Regions from separate parts of the Homo sapiens genome. Here all the other regions are linked to region 2. Evidence: promoter capture Hi-C in human tissues and cell types (Jung and others, 2019). All regions are on one chromosome and are shown on one strand. Each heading gives the region's core, a stretch centred on a gene start or on the middle of the fragment in contact. The rest is flanking DNA. Distances are from core to core; before and after follow the strand shown. Region 1 overlaps PDE7B (phosphodiesterase 7B). Region 2 holds the start of PDE7B (phosphodiesterase 7B). Region 3 overlaps PDE7B (phosphodiesterase 7B).

Evidence for each region. Contacts are between HindIII fragments. The study calls those that stand out against the background at their distance.
Region 1: a fragment that was not itself captured here is called in contact with the fragment with the promoter of PDE7B in region 2 in 2 of the 25 tissues and cell types used here (IMR-90 fibroblasts and heart right ventricle).
Region 3: a fragment that was not itself captured here is called in contact with the fragment with the promoter of PDE7B in region 2 in 1 of the 25 tissues and cell types used here (hippocampus).

Annotation. Positions count from the first base shown.
Region 1 is chr6:136,056,166-136,060,701 of GRCh38, reverse strand. All of the region lies in intron 2 of PDE7B (phosphodiesterase 7B), which reads right to left. The region is part of intron 3 of PDE7B-AS1 (PDE7B antisense RNA 1); the gene reads left to right. Among named protein-coding and RNA genes, the nearest start is that of PDE7B-AS1, 14 kb to the left of the region's middle. The HindIII fragment of the contact is 4,952 bases long and covers 1-4,536 here.
Region 2 is chr6:135,848,323-135,852,984 of GRCh38, reverse strand. It overlaps PDE7B (phosphodiesterase 7B), which reads right to left and starts at 1,284. Exons shown (of 13, transcript NM_018945.4): 1 at 966-1,284. The coding sequence starts at 986. RefSeq lists a silencer at 1,260-1,497. The HindIII fragment of the contact is 14,106 bases long and covers 1-4,662 here.
Region 3 is chr6:136,102,600-136,106,850 of GRCh38, reverse strand. The region is part of intron 2 of PDE7B (phosphodiesterase 7B); the gene reads right to left. Among named protein-coding and RNA genes, the nearest start is that of PDE7B-AS1, 32 kb to the right of the region's middle. The HindIII fragment of the contact is 6,608 bases long and covers 1-4,251 here.

The DNA.
Region 1 (4,536 bases), core at 895-3,394, 210 kb before region 2:
GTGATCTGGGACAAGTCATTTATGTGACTTGAGCCTCAATTTCCCATTTGTAAAGTGGAGTACTAATTCTGTGTCTACCTCACAGGGTTGTTATAAGAATTAAGGAGCTAATCTAAATAAATGATTTTTGTACATCCTAAATTGCTGTCTCATGAAAGTTATTATAATAACTATTGTTTATATTACCACAATTTAGATTTTCTTGTAATTTACACCTTTTCTCTGATTTATGGCATTTTTACTCAGCTAATAAAATGATTTTAGGTTCTTACTTACATACTTCTCATGCATACTACTGTTTATACATTTGAATTTTAATATAATGTTTCCTTAAAGTGGGCAGAAAAGAAGAAAGGGCAGAGGAGACAACTGGAAGAGAAAGTACAAGGAGAGGAAAAAATAACAAATCAAATGGGAGCCAAAAGAATCACTCCCTTTCCCCATAAGGTCAGGAACAGGGTGAAGGTCTGGGATTATGACCTAGATTTAGAAATCATCCTTATTCAGGAAAAATGCTCTGCAAAATAATGATTAGCTAAAGAAGAAGGAGGGATATATTAGCTATTCATTTTTATAAACTAGATTTAAAATAATTATCCATTTTCATTCTGATATATGTGTCTTCCAATTTTTCAAGATTAACATTCCACATTAGAATACATGGGTTTGAATTTTACTTAGTTCTTCATGCCTGGTTCCTCAATTCCAAACTGGGTTGAAAATTCTCAAAGGGAAGGGCTGTAATTGGTATGTCTTCCTATCCCTCTCCAAGCTTGGCAGAGTTCAGGTGGATCAGGAATGATTAATTTATGGCAAATACTTCCTATAAAGTGATGTTCAATGTTCCAACCACCACCTTCACTATTTTCTTAATTAAGGTGTAGGATGATTAGCCTTTTACTTATGGAAGCAATCCATTTATTTCAACTGTGAGGAGGTAAGAGTTAAAATTTTGAATGTGAAGTAGTCATGAAAACTGAGCAGCATGATTTTGGGGAGATTAATCGAGTAGACTTTGGGATAGTATTCAAGCAGCTACTACGTTCTTGGAGTTTGCATAATTAAAACTTATAAATTTATGCCTAGCATCTAGGCTTTTCCCGCTCAACTGCAGCAAAGCCACCACCCCTCCTTGCCAAAGTTGTCATTCTGAGCTTAAATCAAATGCGGGCTCTGTTTCAAGCGACTGTGCCTTCCTGGCAGGGTTCCACCACAGCTCAGATCTCCACAGCATCCAGTTTGTCTGGCTGTGGTGCACAGAGAAGGAAAGTTTACATCGGCATAGCAAGTAGGAAGATTGCCTTTTGATTCTCCATCCAGGGATTTGATTAATTTTGTATAATTGCATTGAGGAATTATTAAGCAATTGGGGTCAGAGATGAAGTCTGCATTCATTCTTCCATCTTTTCTCTGCCTCAGAAACAAGTCACTCAACCCATTTATGCCTAGTGTTCCATTATTGGAAGACTAACCTTGTGGGAGTTATTTATATCCTATTGCTCAAGGTCATCACCAAGGTCTGATTTTTTACAAAAATAAATTGCAATCTCTGGCATAAATGGGTTAACTCCTAAACTGTAAAGTTGCTGTTAGTTAGACCACCCCTGGCCCAAAGCACAGGTCAACTTGACCTGTCAACACACTTCATGCCAAACAACTGTTCAGACTGACTCATTCATAATTCATGCATCTAAAAAGACATAATCATGGATTATGTGTATTTAAGTTGCTGACTCTCTAATCCTATTTCTGCTATTTCCATAGCAGAACCTAAAAGGCTTACTTTCTATTAAACTATTCGTTATATAAATCACTTTTTTCCCCCCAAATCAGTGTCCTCAATGGTTGAGTAGTTATTTAAAGTAAATGACTTTGGTTCTAGTAGTCATTTAGTTCTAGTAAATGGACATGGTATACTATTTTTCCCCCTGAATTCTGTAAAATACCACCCATTAAAATCTCTCTTCCTCATCCCCTCTCTTACATTTTCCCCAAATCCACATGTTTGACAGCACAGAAGGATACCAGTTAACATGTGTGTTGATAAAAGATGAGGTTTATAAGCCTCCTGAATCTACCATTGCTTAAAACATTGGAATATCATAAACTAGGGCTGCTAATGAATAGTACATCCAAAACTCAGATAATTCTTACTAGTCTTATTACCTTAAAAGTAATTAACCAGGTATTCTTTTTTCTTAATTCCCTTTGGTTATTGTTTCTGCTTTGCTACTGAATTCCCAGGAAATAGACACTGGAGGTGGGATGGGGACATAGTTTTTGTCCAGTGAGCATGCTGGGAATTCTGAATATTTTCAGCCTCCTTTGGACATTTGTGGGTGAGCAGATGTTACATGTTTTCAGGGTGTCCTTTATTTCCAATTGAAGATTATCCAAACTCTGAAATCTCATGAGGATATCTAATGGTTTTTCTTGAACATAACTGGAAGACCTTGACCCCTGCCAATTTCATTAGGAGATAAACTATTACTGTATGTTGATCTCTTTACAAAACCCCTGATTTTTGAGTTCCCCCCTATCTGGTGCTTTGGAAAGATCTGCCACTTGTCAAGAGTGATCAGTCTTGATTCCTAAAAAGCAGTGGTTGGAATTCTAATGGCAATGTGTTATAGATTGTCTTTTTGCATTATTAAATTGTGAGCAGAGGCGGGCGCAGTGCCTCATGCCTGTAATCCCAGCACTTTTAAAGGTCGAGGCAGAAGGATTACCTGAGGTCAGGAGTTCGAGACCAGCCTGGAAAACATGGTGAAACCCCGTCTCTACTAAAAATAAAAAAATTAGTCAGGCGAGGTGGTGCACGCCTGTGACCCCAGCTACTTGGGAGGCTGAGGCAGGAGAATTGCTTGAACCTGGGAGGTGGAGGTCGCCGTGAGCTGAGATGGCACCACTGCACTCCAGCCTGGGTGACAGAACAAGACTCCGTCTCAAACAAAAAACTGTGAGCAGATATCATCCCAACAAAATGGTGATCTAGAATCTAGATTCAAGTAAAAGCTTTGTGATGACATGGGTTTTTGACTTAAGTGGCCATTCATACCATGAATAATTGACAACTCAAAAATCAGAACACAAACTTCTCCTTTTAACTAAGGATTTAGTTGACAACCAAATACTGGCAAATTCAACATTGTGTGTACAAAATTACTTTTGCATGTAATTTGACACAACCAAATTTTAAACTCTGCATCTCCACCCTAAACCATTCAGAACATTTTGGTAATTGTATGATTAGAGGTATTAGGCTTTCATTGTATACTTTGATGTATAATGGGTGAGAGTTTGATTAAAAAATAGAAGGATACTTTCAAGATTTACCATGGGAATTGCAAATATAATTAAGCCAAAAGTCTGTTCTATGACTTTTCTTTCCACTATTTATCACTCAGAGTAATGAACCATGGATGAGGGAATGTGAATTGAGTTAGTGCTTCCTGATCTTCAAGGATAAGATAAAAAGGCAACTTAATATTTCTGGGTAATCAGTAGAAATGAGAATAGTGTGGGATAATAACCATTAGCATGTACATCACTTAGCTTATTATGTACCAGCAGTGTGCTAGTTCTTTGTGTGGATTAACTGATTTAACCTTCACAATCGCACCACAATGCAGTTTCTTTGGTTATTTCCATCTTACAAATGAGAAAACCGAGGTCCAAAGACTTTAGTAAAGATACAGGGCCATTGGGCTCCAGAGCTCATCTTTTAACCATGATAATGAATTAAAGAGAAGTATGCCTAATGATAGGGCCAAAGGGGAGGGGCTTAGGGAAATAGAAGGCTATTAATTTTTCATAAGATTAACAAAAAAGAATACAAACCAGAACCACAAACATAAAAAAGATGGAGTCGGCCAAGCGCGGTGGCTCACGCCTGTAATCCCAGCACTTTGGGAGGCCGAGGCAGGTGGATCACCTGAAGTCTGGAGTTTGAGACCAGCCTGGCCAACATGGCAAAACCCCGTCTCTACTAAAAATACAAAAATTAGCTGGGTGTGGTGGCAGGTGCCTGTAATCCCAGCTATTTGGGAGGCTGTGGCAGGAGAATCGATTGAACCCAGGAGGCGGAGGTTGCAGTGAGCCAAGATCACGCCATTGCACTCCAGCCTGGGCAACAAGGGCAAAACTCTTGTCAAAAAAAAAAAAAAAAAAAAAAAAAAAAAAAAAAAAAGGATTCTATCTGCAAAGGAGCTCAGAATTGAAGGCTTACTGAAAAGTGTGCCTCTAACTAACTTTTCAGCTTTGTAGGGCAATTGCCAAAAAGCAAGAACTGCAGAAAGAACTTGACAGTTTTTAAGATGGCCCACGAAGCCTTTAAAACACATTAATATAATTAGAAGTCATATCACCGTTATAAATAAACAGTTCACCTGTGTATGCACATATCTTGGCTGGCCCTTAATTAAAGCTTGGTTTCCAATGAAGGGACAAAGTTATTCAACATGGTTAGTGTGGGGAAGACTGAAGACGTATAGCAACTGTCGACCTTGACCTTGGTGAGCTGTCAGGAATAGGAGC
Region 2 (4,662 bases), core at 35-2,534:
GAAAACAACATTAGCCCTGTATTGAATTGCCAATCTTCCTGCAGCATTTAGTGTGTTTACTGTATATGAATGCCTATGCCTGTCTCTGGTGCAAAGAGGTTTACTCTTATTGCAATAGTCACTCTGGCTAGAGCACATGAAGAACAGAATTTTTAAATGATTAATTAGTCCCCAGGCTCAATCACTTAAGCCCCTAATTGAATATCTGACTCCATTTTCAACTATTGTAGGAAAAGATAATTAGCAAATTTGCAGTGGTAATAAAGAAGTTTTACTTTCCTTTATAAATAATAATATCTAAATTTCTGGTCATGTAACTTAGTACTTGCATCTCTCCTGGACTTCTGAATCCAAAACATTTTTTGAAAAATGCAACAAGGTGATGAAGGATTTTTCTTCAGAGCTCATTTTTTGGACATCTTCTATTGATTTTTTTCTACCTTCAGTCTCACTATCAGCTTCTTCCCTTCTTGCCACTAATTTCTTCATCTTGAAGTCTGCTATCAACCAACATGAAAAACTCAAGAAAAAAACTAATTTCCTTCTTCCCTGTTCCACAAACCTTACCAATCCCTTTACCAGCATTTTCCTATCCTGTCCCACCAAAAATGAAAATTACCCAACTCCAAGATTTATGTTGGAGAAAAAAAATATTGCATTCTTTATTTTTTTTTTTAAAGACCACCTCAGTGTGGGCTCAAAGTGCAGTGAAAATGCCGGAGTCTCATTACACTGGTTGGAATGAAACCCTGCTGCCCTTAAACGGTTAATTCAGGGTAAGTGATAATGTTTAGTCAGTTCGCCTAGAAAAAGGAAGGAAATTCAAAAGCTGGTTGCTGTAGTAACAATCACAGACAAAAAACATATATATGTACAGGTTCATTTTAAATAAAAATCCTGCCATCTCTCTGTGACTCTATTCTCTCAAGAAAACTGAGCTTGCCGCTTAAATTTGTTGTACATACCTCAACCATTAAACAAGACATTTAACCATAGTGGCAGTTCTGTGACCTTTGAATGCCGTGAAATCTCTGAGCGGTGCTGCTTGTTCATGAAGACTTGTGCTGCAGAATCCAGCAACTTCATCCAGGATTAGGAATATAATTAAGTAACAAAAAAAAAAAAAGAAAAAAAAGGAAAAGAAATAAAGAAACACAAAAGCACACAAGGAGATCGAGAAAGAAGGAAGGTAGAAAGAGAGACTCTCCCTGGGTGAGTAACACCACTTTTCTCCCAGACAAGTGCTGGGACAGAGCCGAGCCTGCTGCAGTGCCCAGACCAACTGACTGGCTGGGTGAGCAGCCGCCGGCCTGCTAGGCTGGGAGGTGCTGTCAGTTGCCACAGGCAAGGAAAAGCAGAGACCAATCGGCTTCAACTCTGGCAGCTTACTGGAGTGGAGCCTTTTCTGTTTATGTTTCCTCATTTCAAGAGTGACGTCAAAGGGTTTAGTTTTTCCTCTGCATGTGCTATTAATTTTAAAGTACTGTACTATGGGAAGAATGTGTGTGTGCCTGTGGTCAGCCTGGGCACCCCACTCTCAGGAGAGCCCAAGAAACATTTTCTATATTCGGGAATACATTTAAAGAATTTAAAATACCTTGTGGTGAGGTGTATAAAAACAAAAGCAAAACAAAACAAAAATTAAATATAAAACCCTGAGCTAAATCATAGCAGCAAGATGTAGATTTTTTCCATCTGTGAGTGTATGTGCTCCATGCTCACTTGGCAGCTGTTGCTTATTTTTTTTTACCTAATTCATTTTTACTCTTACCTAAAAATGAGTTGTTAATTAAACTTGATAGCCATAGAGGCAGAATCGTACAAATGCACTGGTGAACAAAATGATGTGCAATGAAACATAGAACTCCTGTGTCAGTTTGTGCCATGGGTCCCTGCGTTTCCTCCAGCTTCCGTGGTGAAGCCTCAGGCTTGTTCCTGCCAGGGAGATGCCTCCTGATGCCAGCAGGAGTCATTCAAGAAGCAAGGCTATGGTGATGCCATGCAGGTGTGCCTGGGGCCTCAGCTTGTTCTTTCCCAAAGAGTATGAAGGTCCAGTTATTTAGGGATACTTCCTTTACCAGGGACCCCAGCTTATCCCTGGGTTACACTTCCCACTCTGGAAAAATCCCCATAGTTGCCATCTGTTGTTTCTGCCTCCCCCACATCCTCCTCCTTTTCCCCATCCCCATCCTAAATTCTGCTAACAGACCTTTTTTGGGTGGGCGGTGGGCGGAACTTTCCTTCCTCTATCTTCTATGGATTGCATGGACTTTGCCCCCAGCCCCATTCCCACGACAGAGCCACAAGGGGGCATGGGACCCACAGGGGCCAATCAGATTTCTCCATTGCTCCGAGGCAGACTATGTTTTAGGGGTGGGCGCAACACTAAAGAATGTCCACATTCCTTTTTCAAATACTAATATTGTTTCTTTGAGAAAGAAAGTATTTATGTATCCCTAAGAGCCTAGGCGCTAGGATTAAGCATCCCTGTAGTTGTTGGGGTTTATCTTTGGTGTTGAAGCTACAATAGTGAACAAAACAGATGGTTCTTTGCCCCCATGGAGTCTACATTTTGGAGAAGCAGGGAAATTGTCAAAGAAAAATAAGTAAACGTATAATGTCAGTTGGCAATGAGGGCTTCAAAATAAGGTAAGGAGAATGAGGTGTGTGTGTACACGTGCATGTGTGTGTGTGTGGTGTGTGTGCTATTTTAGGAAAGATGATCAGGGCAGCCCTCTGATAAAGCAACTTGGAGCGGAGGCCCGAATGATGGGACATAGCAGGTACTGTGTGCCTCTACCTTCCATGCAGATGAAGCCATGGAAAGGTCCCACAACACATGAGTGCTTGGCAGAGCCAAGGAACAGGAAGGGAAATAGAGTGGCTGGAAGAGAATGAGCAAAGGGAAGAAATAAGTTTCAGAAGGTATGTCTGGGACAAGATCAGGACATGTCTTACAGGCCATGCACACGACTTAGATTTTATTCCAAGGTGAAAACCTACCTATCAGAGTGTTTTGAACTGAGGAATGTCTATGATTCGACACGAATTCTGAAGAGATTTCTCTCTTTTCTCTGTGGAAGATAGACTCCTAGGGAGCAAGAGTAGAAGCAGAGAGACCAATAAATGAGGCCACTGTGCTAACCTAAGTGAGAGCACATCATGGCTCGGACTTGGGTGAGAGCAGTGGAGAAGGTGGGAGGGCCAGATTTTGGAAGGGGGCCTGTGTATTTGCAGAGAGCGTTGGCAGTATTTGAAGATGAGAGGTGTGAGAAAAAGAGAGGAATCAAGAGTAATTTCCAGGTTCCTGGCTTGGGCAAACTGGACTAGAGTTGCCATTTACTGACATGGGGAAGACTGGGAGAAGAGCCTGGTTTTGAGGTGAAATAAATAACAGTTCTGGACCTTCACTGAACAGCAACAGATATTTGATTGTGTACTCTGTACCAGGCACTGTTCTAGGTGCTGGGGAGAATGCAGTGAAAACATATAACACACATACACACCCTCCAACACGTAATTCTTTGACCCCACGAAACTTAGATTCTTCTGAAAGGAGAATGGCCATAACAACAAATAAAAAATTTATATAGGATATCGGGTGGTAATACTGTTGTGAAGAAGAAACAGGAGAGGGAAGGGTCACTAGTCAGATAGAGGCTTGCAATTTTAAAGTGAGTATGCAGAGAAGGTGCCACTGCAAAGATGATGTTGGACACAAAGGGGAAGTTGATGAGGGAGGCATAGGGAGAGCATTTTAAACAAGAGGACATTAAGTGCAAGGCTCTGGGGACTGGAGTATTTGGCTGGTAAGTAGTAGGATATGGCAATGGGTGCAGAGGTGACAGATCAAGGAGAGTTTTCTAGGTCATTGTAAGGACTTTGGCTTCCTGTCTGCATGAAACAGGGCTTTAAGGAGAGGAATGAGGCAATCTGACTTACTTTTTGACAGGATCGCTCTGGCTACCATGTGGAGGTCAAGGTAGAAGAGAGTCTAATAAACGATATATTGCAATAAACAAGCCAGACATCCTAGTGGTGTCTACCACGATGCTTTGGTGGAGGTGGCTAGAAGTGGTTTACTTCCAATTATATGTTGGTGTTAAGGACAATAAGACTTGTTAAATGGATTGGGTGCTAAGTACAAAGGAGGGAGATTAGTGAGAGGAGCCAATGACATCTCCAAAATTTGGGGTTCCATCAAGTAGAAGAACAGAGCTAGCACTGACCAAGGGATGGCGGGAGAAGCAGGTTTTGTGGGGAAGATGAAGTTTGATATTGAATTTGTTAACCTTGCCTGTAAGATATCTACATGGAGATGTTGACTAGGCAGTGGAATATATAAGCATGCAGTTTAGGGTACAGTTCTGGGCTGTAGATATAAATTTGGAAGTCATTGTATACCTGTAGAACTTAAAGCCATGAAACTAGATACAATTACCAAGGGAATGAATGCAGATGGAAGAGCTGCAGGCAGTCCACGATTATGCTGTCAAGAATATAAAGAAGGACTAGCAAGGAAGGCTGACAAGGAGCCTCCAGAAAGTATAAGAAAAACCAAGAGAGAATGGTGCCTTAGAAGGTAAATTAACTATTTCAATGATCAGCTGTGTAAAATGACACTTAAATGAAGATTGAAAATTGACCCTTAAACTTAGAATG
Region 3 (4,251 bases), core at 377-2,876, 250 kb before region 2:
GTACTTTAATATGGGGTGGCTGGTCAATAAAGGAAAGCTACCAAGAAAAGTTGAAGTGTTTTTCTCTCCTCGGCAGTTGTCTTGAACACCCTATGTTTACAAAGCACTTTCACAACATGACAGTATATTTATCTTCTTGTTTTTTCTCATTGGACCTTCATAATAACCCTGTGAGGAGAGACACCTTTATTCTCTTTACTTTATAAGTAAGAAAATAGAGGCTCAGAGAAGAATGGTTGTGAAGGACTACTATTCGCTCTGTAGTCCCAGTTAAGGGCACAAGCCCCTTAAAGTCCTGATATAGTAAATATTTATGGACTTTAATTGAGCTGCCTAAGTTTATGGTGCTTTCAGCTTATAGTCAGTGGGGTAGCACTTAAATCTAGGCTGTTAGACTTCATAGGAAGAGCTCTTTCTACAATACCGTTGTTTTCTAACCTTATGATTAGAAACACACACCTTAGGGAGTGTGTAGACCTGGTTTTTAAAATGAAAAAAGAAATGAAAATCTTAGATCCTCACATAAAAGTAGTTGTAGTTTTAATATCAATTGAGAAAATACAGCATGTTAAAATGATAGACTCACTGACTTTAAATAAATTTATGTTTTATAATGGTAAGAAGGGAGACATATACAGTAAAAATGATGCATGGAGGAGACTGTATAGATTTTATCTACAAAGCTGGCTGGGCTTGTGGATTTGTTGACCTGTTGCTGTAATCTCATGGGCTCCTTCCAGCACTTTCACGCTCACCTTTTGGAAATCACTTCTCCATTAGTATTTTCTTCTCAGTATTACCAAAGAGGAACTGTATAGATTTTATCTACAAAGCTGGCTGGGCTTGTGGATTTGTTGACCTGTTGCTGTAATCTCATGGGCTCCTTCCAGCACTTTCACGCTCACCTTTTGGAAATCACTGTGTAATATTGATGAAGTTTTTAATGCCTGTGACAGGATTTCTTCCTGGTCTTCACCTGACAATCTAGGGCAGCGGAGGCCCATTATTACGTAAAGTTTTAGATTTAGGGAAACTGAGGAAGAGTACCCTGTGGCCAAATGGATGAAGGGAGGGCAATACACTGGGAACTTGGGGGCTCCTGTACTGACAGGACGAACATTTTGCCATCTTGGGTAACCCTGGATGAATCAGTAATCACTCTGAAGTCCAGTTGTCTAATATTTAAATTGCATAAATCATAGCAATTTTATCTACATCACAGAGTTGTTGTAAGGAAATTATAAGGTATGTGAAAATAATATGGTAGATAACATTCATTGAATACTTATACTGTGCTGAGGATTTTACATGTATTATCTCACATCATCAACCCAACAACCCAAAGTAGCTGTTATTATTATTATTTGACAGCTTTACAGATGAGGAAGCAAAGCTAATGGAAATTTGATAATTTGTTCAGACTCATAGAGCTAGTAAGTGCAGAGCTTATGCTTAAACTCAGAACCGACTTGAAACCTCATGTTCTTAACCACTTTCCTATATTATCAAGATGAAAAATTGGTTAAACAGGTCAGCATTAACTTTTTCTTACGTAATGTATGCTTTGATTGCTGTTTGCTGATAAACCAAATGTACAGTCATGATGATTTGTGGAAAAAGAATACCAGGAGAATCCCACTCCCTTGATGAGTTCACGGTTCAATCAAAGAGCATTTCAGTGGAAATGGGCTGTACAAGCAAGACAACCAAATCCTGTCCTGGATCAACAAGGAATCTATTACTTTTAAGTAAGAAAGCAATTATTAAAAATATTCTTCAGCAGAACTGAAATTAGCTGGCAACAAATTTTCACACTGCACCCTACTTTGGGAAGAAGAGACAAGTAACAATGGAGCTAGGTGAGAGCAAAGATACCTAAACAAGCAAACAAACCCAAACAAATCGGCAATAACAACAAATAAGGAAACCATACCTGGAAGATTCCATTTCAGTGCTGACACTGTCCATAACTACACTGCACTTTGAGAAGCTGATTCCTCATAAACCTAACAATGCCCCTTTGGTGTAGTAAATAATCATTTTCAAAAGGATGAAATCATGTTAAGAATACCAGTAAGGCAGGAGGCAGGACAATTGTAAGTATGCTAACAATGCATCTGAGAAATTTCACAACATGAAAACAGTTCAATACAAACACACCAGACATTCCCAATCTGAAGCATTCTATTTAATGGAAGCGCTCATGTAGTAAGATTTATGTGTTAATGGTATATTTCTAATATAGAAAGTTTTCTTTCCTTCTCCCTGCTTTAAGGAGCCTGTTCTGATATTAAATTGCTTTAATACGCTGGTGGGAAGAGAGAATTAATTCAGTAACAACAGTCCTCAGAGGAGCAGAGGCTACTGGGCTGTTTTCTGAGGGACAGAACAAGCGGTGTCCTGCCTAGCTGCTTTTCCTGGCCCAGGGTCTCAGGCAATCATCTATTTACCTAAGGCCTTATATCCAAGCTAAACAATTATTTTGACTATTCATTGAGTCCTTGTTTAACTTAAGCAACTTGTTTTTTTTCTTCTGGCATATGAAAGGTGCTGTGGAAGCTGGTAGGAAGCGTTGACAGCCTAGAGTCATGTCCCCAGTCTGTTCTTATTGTGTTCCAAAAGGAAACAAACAGCAGGGGCATTCTGATTTTGAAAGGCTGCTGCTTTTTTTTGCCCCTTCAGGCTGACAACATCACATGTCATCCCCTGTACTGAAGGCTGCAAACAGGCTCAGAGCTGAGCTGAATTGCCCCAGGAGCCACGACCTGACCTGACGACAGCCCCTCACCCTCCCTGAGGACAGGGCTCCGGAATGGACCTCTTGCTTACTTGGCCTCTCACGCTGCCTCTGGTTAATAAAAGCTTGTGCTAGGAAGCAGATGTCTATGTAGCCTCTTATGTAACTGGCAAAGAGGGTGGAGACTCTGACAGCGATGACAACTTACAGTGGCTGAAACACAGGCCATGTGACAAGAACCAGACTCTGGCCCCTGTCGTGGTATGTCAAGGTCATTTCAGGGTGAGGAAAAGGTGTCAGGGACAGAGCAGTAGCTACTGGGCTTCCATGGCATCTGAGATGAATGAAGAAGATAGTGACGTTCTTGGTATAAACAGGTTGCACGGAATATGGGATAGAGATTCATAGCAGGGGCATCACTAAGGAACCAGGAAGATGAGATAGTGCTGGTATCAGAAAGGTGAAGCCGCAAAGCAGCCCAAATATGGTGGGAAAGAAGCAGCTCTCATGAAAGGTATTCCTCTGAGCTTGCTGAGCACATTACTAATTCATGTCACTGCCACCACTTGCAAAATAAAGACAGAGAAAATCCAGATCCCAAATCTCAGACAACTTTCACCATACTGCACATCTCAGCTAGAAGCTTTGTTTATTTCAGCTGACTACTCTCCAAATTAACTAAGTGAACGATTTCTCCTAAGATGTTTATCTGGCCTAAAAGAGAGGAGGAAGGTTGTGCAATTTAATCACTCCATAGATTTATGGGATAGCACAAGCAGCCAGTTCAGATAACTTAGGCAGAGATTATTGTTCCGAGTACCATGATCTTACAGGAGGGAGCCAAGATGGCTGATTAGACCCAAATTTCCCCTGTGGGCGTTCAATCTTCCACTTTCTTGAGTGACACTGGGCCTGCCTGGTCATCAAGGACTATGTGCTGAACTGGCTAAGTAGGAGGCTTCCTGTCCATTGTTCTGTTTCACTAGCTGTGTGTTCCTGGGCTGTCGGTGAGAGAGCTTTGTATGTAGGAAAGAGGCAAACCAGGAGTTAGTCGTCCAGAAACCACATTTTTCGCAAAAGGAATGAAACACAATTTTCTTTGCATGTGAAAAAAGTTCTTTCTTCTCTTCTTAAAAATCTTGATTTGCATATAAAAATCAGAGAAAAGGGAAATTTCACTAAGTTAGAGTCGCCAAACAATACTGCATCACCTTGCATCTTTAGCTTAGAATGATGACTTTCTGACAAATGTGCATTTTGGAACTTGAATGCTGAAAAGTGAATATGTAAATAGTAGTGTGTTTGTTTTCTAAAGAAGGTAAGGCAGGTTTTAGACTAGTGTCAACAAGAGCTATCCTCATTTTTGAGCTTGATAGTTTTTCAGAGGGAAAATGAGAAAAAAGTAAGCTTCAATCACCAGGAACATAGGAGTCTCATAAAAAAAGATACTGAACAAGAAGCAGTGGGAATGCCCAAGGAGAATTTCAAAAGCTGTAAAAGACCTTAAAAGAACA